Regions from separate parts of the Homo sapiens genome. Here region 2 is linked to region 1. Evidence: promoter capture Hi-C in human tissues and cell types (Jung and others, 2019). All regions are on one chromosome and are shown on one strand. The core of a region is centred on a gene start or on the middle of the fragment in contact, and the rest is flanking DNA. Distances in the headings are between cores, read along the strand shown. Region 1 holds the start of NT5C2 (5'-nucleotidase, cytosolic II). Region 2 overlaps NOLC1 (nucleolar and coiled-body phosphoprotein 1).

Region 1 (3,601 bases), core at 663-3,162:
CAACAAGAGCAAAGCTCCGTCTCAAAAAAAAAAAAAAAAGAGAGAGAGAGGAAATACTTAAAAAAAAAAACCTGTGTTTTATGTACTCCTCTTTCCCCATAAAACAGGAGAAATAGCCTAGAGAAAGATTAATGAGCACCTCTGTGCCTAACATTCTATTGTAATCTGGCTTTCTTTAGGAAGATGTGATGTCTTCTGGTTAAGGGTGGCAGGTACTATAAGGGAATACTATCTATATAAATCTTCTTACAATTACAAACTTCTGAAAACTTGTAGCTGATGGTAAATTTTCATACAATGGCATCAAACCTTTGAACTGAAAGGAATCTTGCATAACATCTCCTTCAGAACCCCCCCCACTCCACCCCGCGCCCCTCCACCTTATTTTACAGATTTGTTGGTTACTAAATCCTAAAACCTTAATTCTGGGTCAATGAGAGTAATGCAGCTACCTATACTGTTGAAATGTAGTGGTTTACACTGCAATGGAAATGCACTTCAGAAATAAGTCTGTGTATGCTAGTATCAACCCTGCATGTGGAGTTTTTATTTTAATTACTAACCAGCTATGTTTTCTTGAACTTAACCTTTTTTGTTCTTTTTTTTTTTTCCACTCTCAGCTCACACCTATTTTTTTTCTCTTTTCGAACTTCACCCTTTCAGGCCTGGATGTCTTCATCTGGATAAATTCTAACCGTTGTTGAAAAGCCATGTGGTAAATATTTTTGAAACCTAAAGCCTTCTCTACGCAATAACACTAAGTTTTCATGGTAAATGACACAGTTTCAATATTCTCCCTTTCACATTATGGTCAGTAGTTTGCATTCGTTGCTTGAAGAGGCGAAATGAATAGTCTACAGACACTGGGAACCAAGTACAGCTCAATCCTGAAGAACTCATCGGCCCCTGGACGGGCGCGCACACACCCCCCTGTAATGGTGACTAGTCATTTCGGGGCGCTGTACTTCAGAGCACGACCCCCCTCAAACATCAAGGCCCTAAAGGTGAAAGCCCAGGAAAACGTCGATTCGGACAGCAGCCTCTACCTGCTGCTTTTAGAAGCTGTGGCCTGCCGGAGTCAAACCCCCAAAACGTTTTTCTTAAACTAAGGGTTCAGGCCTCAGATCGGCATCTCGCCCTCTCCGATTTCAGGAGCCCCGAAAAAAGGAGAAGAATAGGCCGCCACTGAACGGCTCAGCCCCCTGACCAGGAGCTGTCCGGATGTTTTTTGTGGCGGCTTGCAATTCGCTGTGACCTTTCCAGGAAGTGTTGCACACGGGCGTGTGGCAAACGAGCTGGCCGTTTCTCGCGGTCCTGCTAAAACGCTGTCAACCTGGCGCTCCACCAGAGGCCCCTTGGCTTCTCGGGAGGCGACCGAGGAGCTCTGGGGGCGGGGAGGCTTTTACAAGAAGCGAAAAGACGGCCTCAGGGGTGGCCGGGAACAGCCTGGAATCAGCTGGAGGACGTCAGCAGGACTGAGGAAAGGGCTACCACCAGCGTGAGGAAAGGGGGGAAGAGGGCGGAACGCGGCGAACGGCCGCGCTGGGAGGCTGAGGCGGGGTCCCAGCGAGCCGGCGGCTGGGAAACAATGGCGCGAGCGTGACGTGGGCCGGAGGCGTCGCGGCGGCGCGGAGGAAGGGGCTGCCGTGGGGCGGGGGCCGCACCGAGGGAGTTGGGAGGCGTGCGGCGTCCGCGAGCGCGCTGGCGGGGACTCGGCCTAAGGAGAGGGGCCTTGGGGCCATGGTCCCTGGGGGCCGGGGGCGGGGGCAGGCGGCGGCCGCTACCCTGGGGTCGCGTGTTCGGCCGCGCACCTCCCCACCTAGCTCCCCGTTCGCCCGCTCCTTCCCCGCCCGCCCACGGGGCCCGCCGCACTCACCGGCTCCAGCGCACCGCAACAATCCCAGCGCGCAACTGCCGCAGCCGCCTCAACGCGCGCCCTCCCCGCCCCCGCCGCCCGGCACCGCCCCGCGCCGCCCCTCTGCTCGCGCCCGGCCAGGGACCGGCGCGCTGTTCCGTCCCCCAGCTCCGCCGCAGAGTTCGGCGAAGCCGACGCTCCCTGACCGCGCTGCGTCTGTCTGTCCCGCGGGTCTGGAGATCTTCAAACGATGGAACACCGGCTTTGCCCTTCTGAGGGTCTCCATCCCTTGGCATTCTGCCTGCGCCCCTCAGCCTGGCCCTGGGCTAACCTCTCCACTGTGTCTCATTCAGAAGAAGCTTTTCCTTGGGAGGAGAGGGCATCCTTTTTCCCAGTCACAGAATGTTTTGGTCTAATGGACCTCAAGGCCCCTCATGCGTCCACACCCCCATGGCACCCTCGAATCCCCTTGATGGCTAAAAACACCAGCTTTGAAGTTTGTCAGAACGAGTTCCAGTCCCAGTACCACCACTTACAAACTGTAACCTCGGGCGAGGTACCTGACCTCCTATACCTGGTGCCCACATTTGTAGCACCAGGATAGGGAACAACAGTCCCCACATCAAAGGGTGTTGACGGGATGAAATCACACAATATAGGTGAGGCCCTCAGCAGGATCCTGGCACACAGTAAGCACTCAATAAATGTTCACCCCACCACCAGCAACTCAGCAGGAAGACTCCGCAAAAGCAGCTAGCTATTTCCAGAGGACTGAATTCCTTGGTCCGAGCAGCTCTCACCAGTGAGAAAATGTGTCTAAACTTCCACTCTCAGGGCCGAAATTCGATGCCTTGGAGCCACAGAGAACAAACGTCTAATCTCTCCTGGACCTTTGACTTTTCAGATACTTTACTTCTATCACCTCTGCCCAAGGTCTTCTCATTCCACATCAGTGTCTCCCGTTCCTTCCATTGTTCCTCCTCTGCCCTGGTTTTGAGGGTCTTTATCCCTCTCACGCAAATGGTAGATTTGACTGTGATTTCTTTAGAATACATCACCCAAGACTGAACCAAATGTTTGTGGTATCATCAGAGCAAAGCAGGACTATAGCTTCCTCCTTTTGGGACCTATCGCTTTGCACTCCTGCGATAAAGTTCTTGGCACCCATACTGTTGACTCATATTGGGCTTGCAGTCAACCAAAACCTCCGCGTCTTTTTAATAAGTGCTCCGCCAGAGCACTTCTACCCCTTCTTGTGCTTCTCAGCCAACTTCGCTTCAGGTCAGCTAAGGATAGACCTTGGGCCCCTCACCTTCTAAATTTCTCAGGATATATGGAAAAGAGGAATAGGGGTTGGAAGCTGGCATAACACAATCTTTAAACCAAGTGCATTTGAAAAAAGGCCAGGGTGGCGGGGCGTGGTAGCTCACACCTGTAATCCCATCACTTTGGGAAGCCAAGGCAGGTGGATCATTTGAGGTCAGGAGTTCAAGACCAGCCTGACCAACATGGCGAAACCCCATCTCTACTAAAAATACAAAAATTAGCTGGGCATGGTGGCACGCACCTGTAGTCCCAGCTACTCGGGAGGCTGAGGCAGGAGAATCGCTTGAACCCGGAAGGCGGAGGTTGCAGTGAGCCAAGATCACGCCACTGAACTCCAGCCTGGGCGACAGAGGGAGACTCCATCTCCAAAAAAAAAAAAAAAGAAGAAACGAAAAAAGGCCAGGGTTTGTGTCTAAACAC
Region 2 (3,192 bases), core at 302-2,801, 1.0 Mb before region 1:
GAGCTCTTCAGACAGCTCAGGTAAGGCATATGGAGGCCCTCAGTTCAGTGAGATGCTCTCAGGCAGCTGCTAAGGGCTCCCCTGAATCCAATTTGGGGAGCTGTTGATTCCATCCCTTCTGTGTCTAGACTCTGACAGCTCTGAGGATGATGAAGCTCCTTCTAAGCCAGCTGGTACCACCAAGAATTCTTCAAATAAGCCAGCTGTCACCACCAAGTCACCTGCAGTGAAGCCAGCTGCAGCCCCCAAGCAACCTGTGGGCGGTGGCCAGAAGCTTCTGACGAGAAAGGCTGACAGCAGCTCCAGTGAGGAAGAGAGCAGCTCCAGTGAGGAGGAGAAGACAAAGAAGATGGTGGCCACCACTAAGCCCAAGGCGACTGCCAAAGCAGCTCTATCTCTGCCTGCCAAGCAGGCTCCTCAGGGTAGTAGGGACAGCAGCTCTGATTCAGACAGCTCCAGCAGTGAGGAGGAGGAAGAGAAGACATCTAAGTCTGCAGTTAAGAAGAAGCCACAGAAGGTAGCAGGAGGTGCAGCCCCTTCCAAGCCAGCCTCTGCAAAGAAAGGAAAGGCTGAGAGCAGCAACAGTTCTTCTTCTGATGACTCCAGTGAGGAAGAGGAAGAGAAGCTCAAGGGCAAGGGCTCTCCAAGACCACAAGCCCCCAAGGCCAATGGCACCTCTGCACTGACTGCCCAGAATGGAAAAGCAGCTAAGAACAGTGAGGAGGAGGAAGAAGAAAAGAAAAAGGCGGCAGTGGTAGTTTCCAAATCAGGTCTGTACCCAATGAACATGCCCTCTGGGTTTTGTCCCCCCAAATCAGGATGGGATATACTCTTTGAGAGTAGGGTAGTGAGAGGAGGCCCACCACTGGGCTTCCAGTTGTGGAAACTGGGAGGAAGAACAGGAAACTGGTTACCTTTTTTTTTTTTTATTAGAGTCTCACTGTGTCACCCAGACCAGGGTGCAATGGCATGATCACGGCTTGTGCAGCCTTAACCTCATGGACTCAGGTGATCTTTCCACCCCAGCCTCCTGAGTAGCCGGGACTACAAGCATGCACCACCATGTCTGGCTCATTTTTTTAACTTTTTATAGAGACAGAATCTCACTATATTGCCCAGGCTGATCTGAATTTCCTGGGCTCAAGCGATCCTCCTACCTTGGACTCCCAAAATGCTGGGGTTACAGTTGTGAGCCACTGTACTCGGCCTGAGTCTGGCTTTTTGTTTTGTAGGTTCATTAAAGAAGCGGAAGCAGAATGAGGCTGCCAAGGAGGCAGAGACTCCTCAGGCCAAGAAGATAAAGCTTCAGACCCCTAACACATTTCCAAAAAGGAAGAAAGTAAGTTGTCTCACTTTCTTCTCAGGAGCCAGCTCTTTAAAAGTAGAAAAATCTAGGATCATCTTGACAGCTCTGCCTGGCGTGACCTGGTACATGTGCCCATGTGTATCACTCAGGAGAACTGTTACATGACCACTCTGTCTTTAATTTCCTACTTCATTCTTCTGTAGGGAGAAAAAAGGGCATCATCCCCATTCCGAAGGGTCAGGGAGGAGGAAATTGAGGTGGATTCACGAGTTGCGGACAACTCCTTTGATGCCAAGGTGAGAGAGAGATCTGTGCCATTCTTGGGAGGGAGGATGGGTAGTGTCAGAGAGGACAATTCTTGGTTCAGGTTGGTGGGAATCTTCTCTGGGTTCAGGTTTCCTTGAGCAGGGAGTAGAAAGAATAAAGTGACAGGGCTCCAGCATGGTCCTCCTCTGTGTTAATCTCCCTCTCTACTTACCAGCGAGGTGCAGCCGGAGACTGGGGAGAGCGAGCCAATCAGGTTTTGAAGTTCACCAAAGGCAAGTCCTTTCGGCATGAGAAAACCAAGAAGAAGCGGGGCAGCTACCGGGGAGGCTCAATCTCTGTCCAGGTCAATTCTATTAAGTTTGACAGCGAGTGACCTGAGGCCATCTTCGGTGAAGCAAGGGTGATGATCGGAGACTACTTACTTTCTCCAGTGGACCTGGGAACCCTCAGGTCTCTAGGTGAGGGTCTTGATGAGGACAGAAGTTTAGAGTAGGTCCTAAGACTTTACAGTGTAACATCCTCTCTGGTCCTTTTCTGTGTTCCTAGTTTTGTACAGACTTGTTTTTGAGTGTTGAGTAGCAGGGACAAAATAAGGGAATGTTATTTTTTAAGAAAATTCATTTTCATTGTTGTCTCCTTCCTTTTCTGTGAAAGTCCTCATACTGAGAAATTTGTATATTTTATATTAAATCACTTACTATTGATTTTTGTTGTGATTTTCAAAGGTGGATTCCCACAGATAAAATCTTGGCTATTGCCCAAAACATAGTAAAGGGTCACGTGTGACTTTTTATAATAGGAAGAAAATTCTGCCTTTGTGAGTGCACATGTCCACATTTCATCCCTCCTTCCCTCAAAACCCTAGAGAGGGGCATTAAAGAATTGTTGATGTATATGCAATGTCTGTTAAGCATGCACTATGTATTTCATCCTCATTTATTGGGTCTGGGACTGAAGTTTTTAGCCAGCATGGACCTAACCTACTTTTTGGGATAAAATTCTCTGTTTTGTTACAGGCAAAATTCTGGTATGGCGTGAATGCCATGGGTCATTCTGAATATATTTTTTTCTGTAATTTTATCATTACACGATGTTTGCAATACGTGCTTTGTTTTTTAATTTGAAAGCAAACTTTTCTACTGTTGAAAGACATTTTTTGACAACTTGACCCTTCCTAGTATTGAGTTCTAAGTTGAGGACTGCATCTTCTCGTTTTTTACAGTATAGAGAACAAAATGACATGAGTTTGAAAAATACATATCACTTGGTATTGCTGTCTTGGTTGCAGTGGTGATACAGAATTGGTTTCATTAATTCCTACATGGTTGAGAATCACTGATCAAGAAAGTGGGGGGAAAAAAAACAAACGTTAAAACCTCAATCCTCAGTAGGAAGGTAGATTACATTAGGTGAAATTATAGGTAATCTATGTATGTGCTAATGGGGTTGGAAAGAACCTTACAGAGCATATTACCTGATAAACTGGAGTGGGTTTGGGAGAACAAACTAATAGGATTATTGTGTCTCCTAGTTGGTACCTGGGAGCAATTGACATGCCCCCTTCAGAACCTTAACTGTTAGTAGCAGTGGCTGTAACAACACAAACCAGTGACCAGAGA

The links. Contacts are between HindIII fragments. The study calls those that stand out against the background at their distance.
Region 2: a contact is called between a fragment that was not itself captured here and the fragment with the promoter of NT5C2 in region 1, in 1 of the 25 tissues and cell types used here (spleen).

The regions. Positions count from the first base shown.
Region 1 is chr10:103,191,360-103,194,960 of GRCh38, forward strand. NT5C2 (5'-nucleotidase, cytosolic II) reads right to left here and starts at 1,913. Exons shown (of 19, transcript NM_001351169.2): 1 at 1,877-1,913. RefSeq lists enhancers at 654-1,342, 1,343-2,029 and a silencer at 1,728-2,007. The HindIII fragment of the contact is 10,406 bases long and covers 1-3,601 here.
Region 2 is chr10:102,160,324-102,163,515 of GRCh38, forward strand. It overlaps NOLC1 (nucleolar and coiled-body phosphoprotein 1), which reads left to right. Exons shown (of 13, transcript NM_004741.5): 9 at 1-20; 10 at 129-770; 11 at 1,233-1,339; 12 at 1,510-1,602; 13 at 1,788-3,192. The coding sequence ends at 1,946. Among named protein-coding and RNA genes, the nearest start is that of NOLC1, 9.5 kb to the left of the region's middle. The HindIII fragment of the contact is 5,920 bases long and covers 1-3,192 here.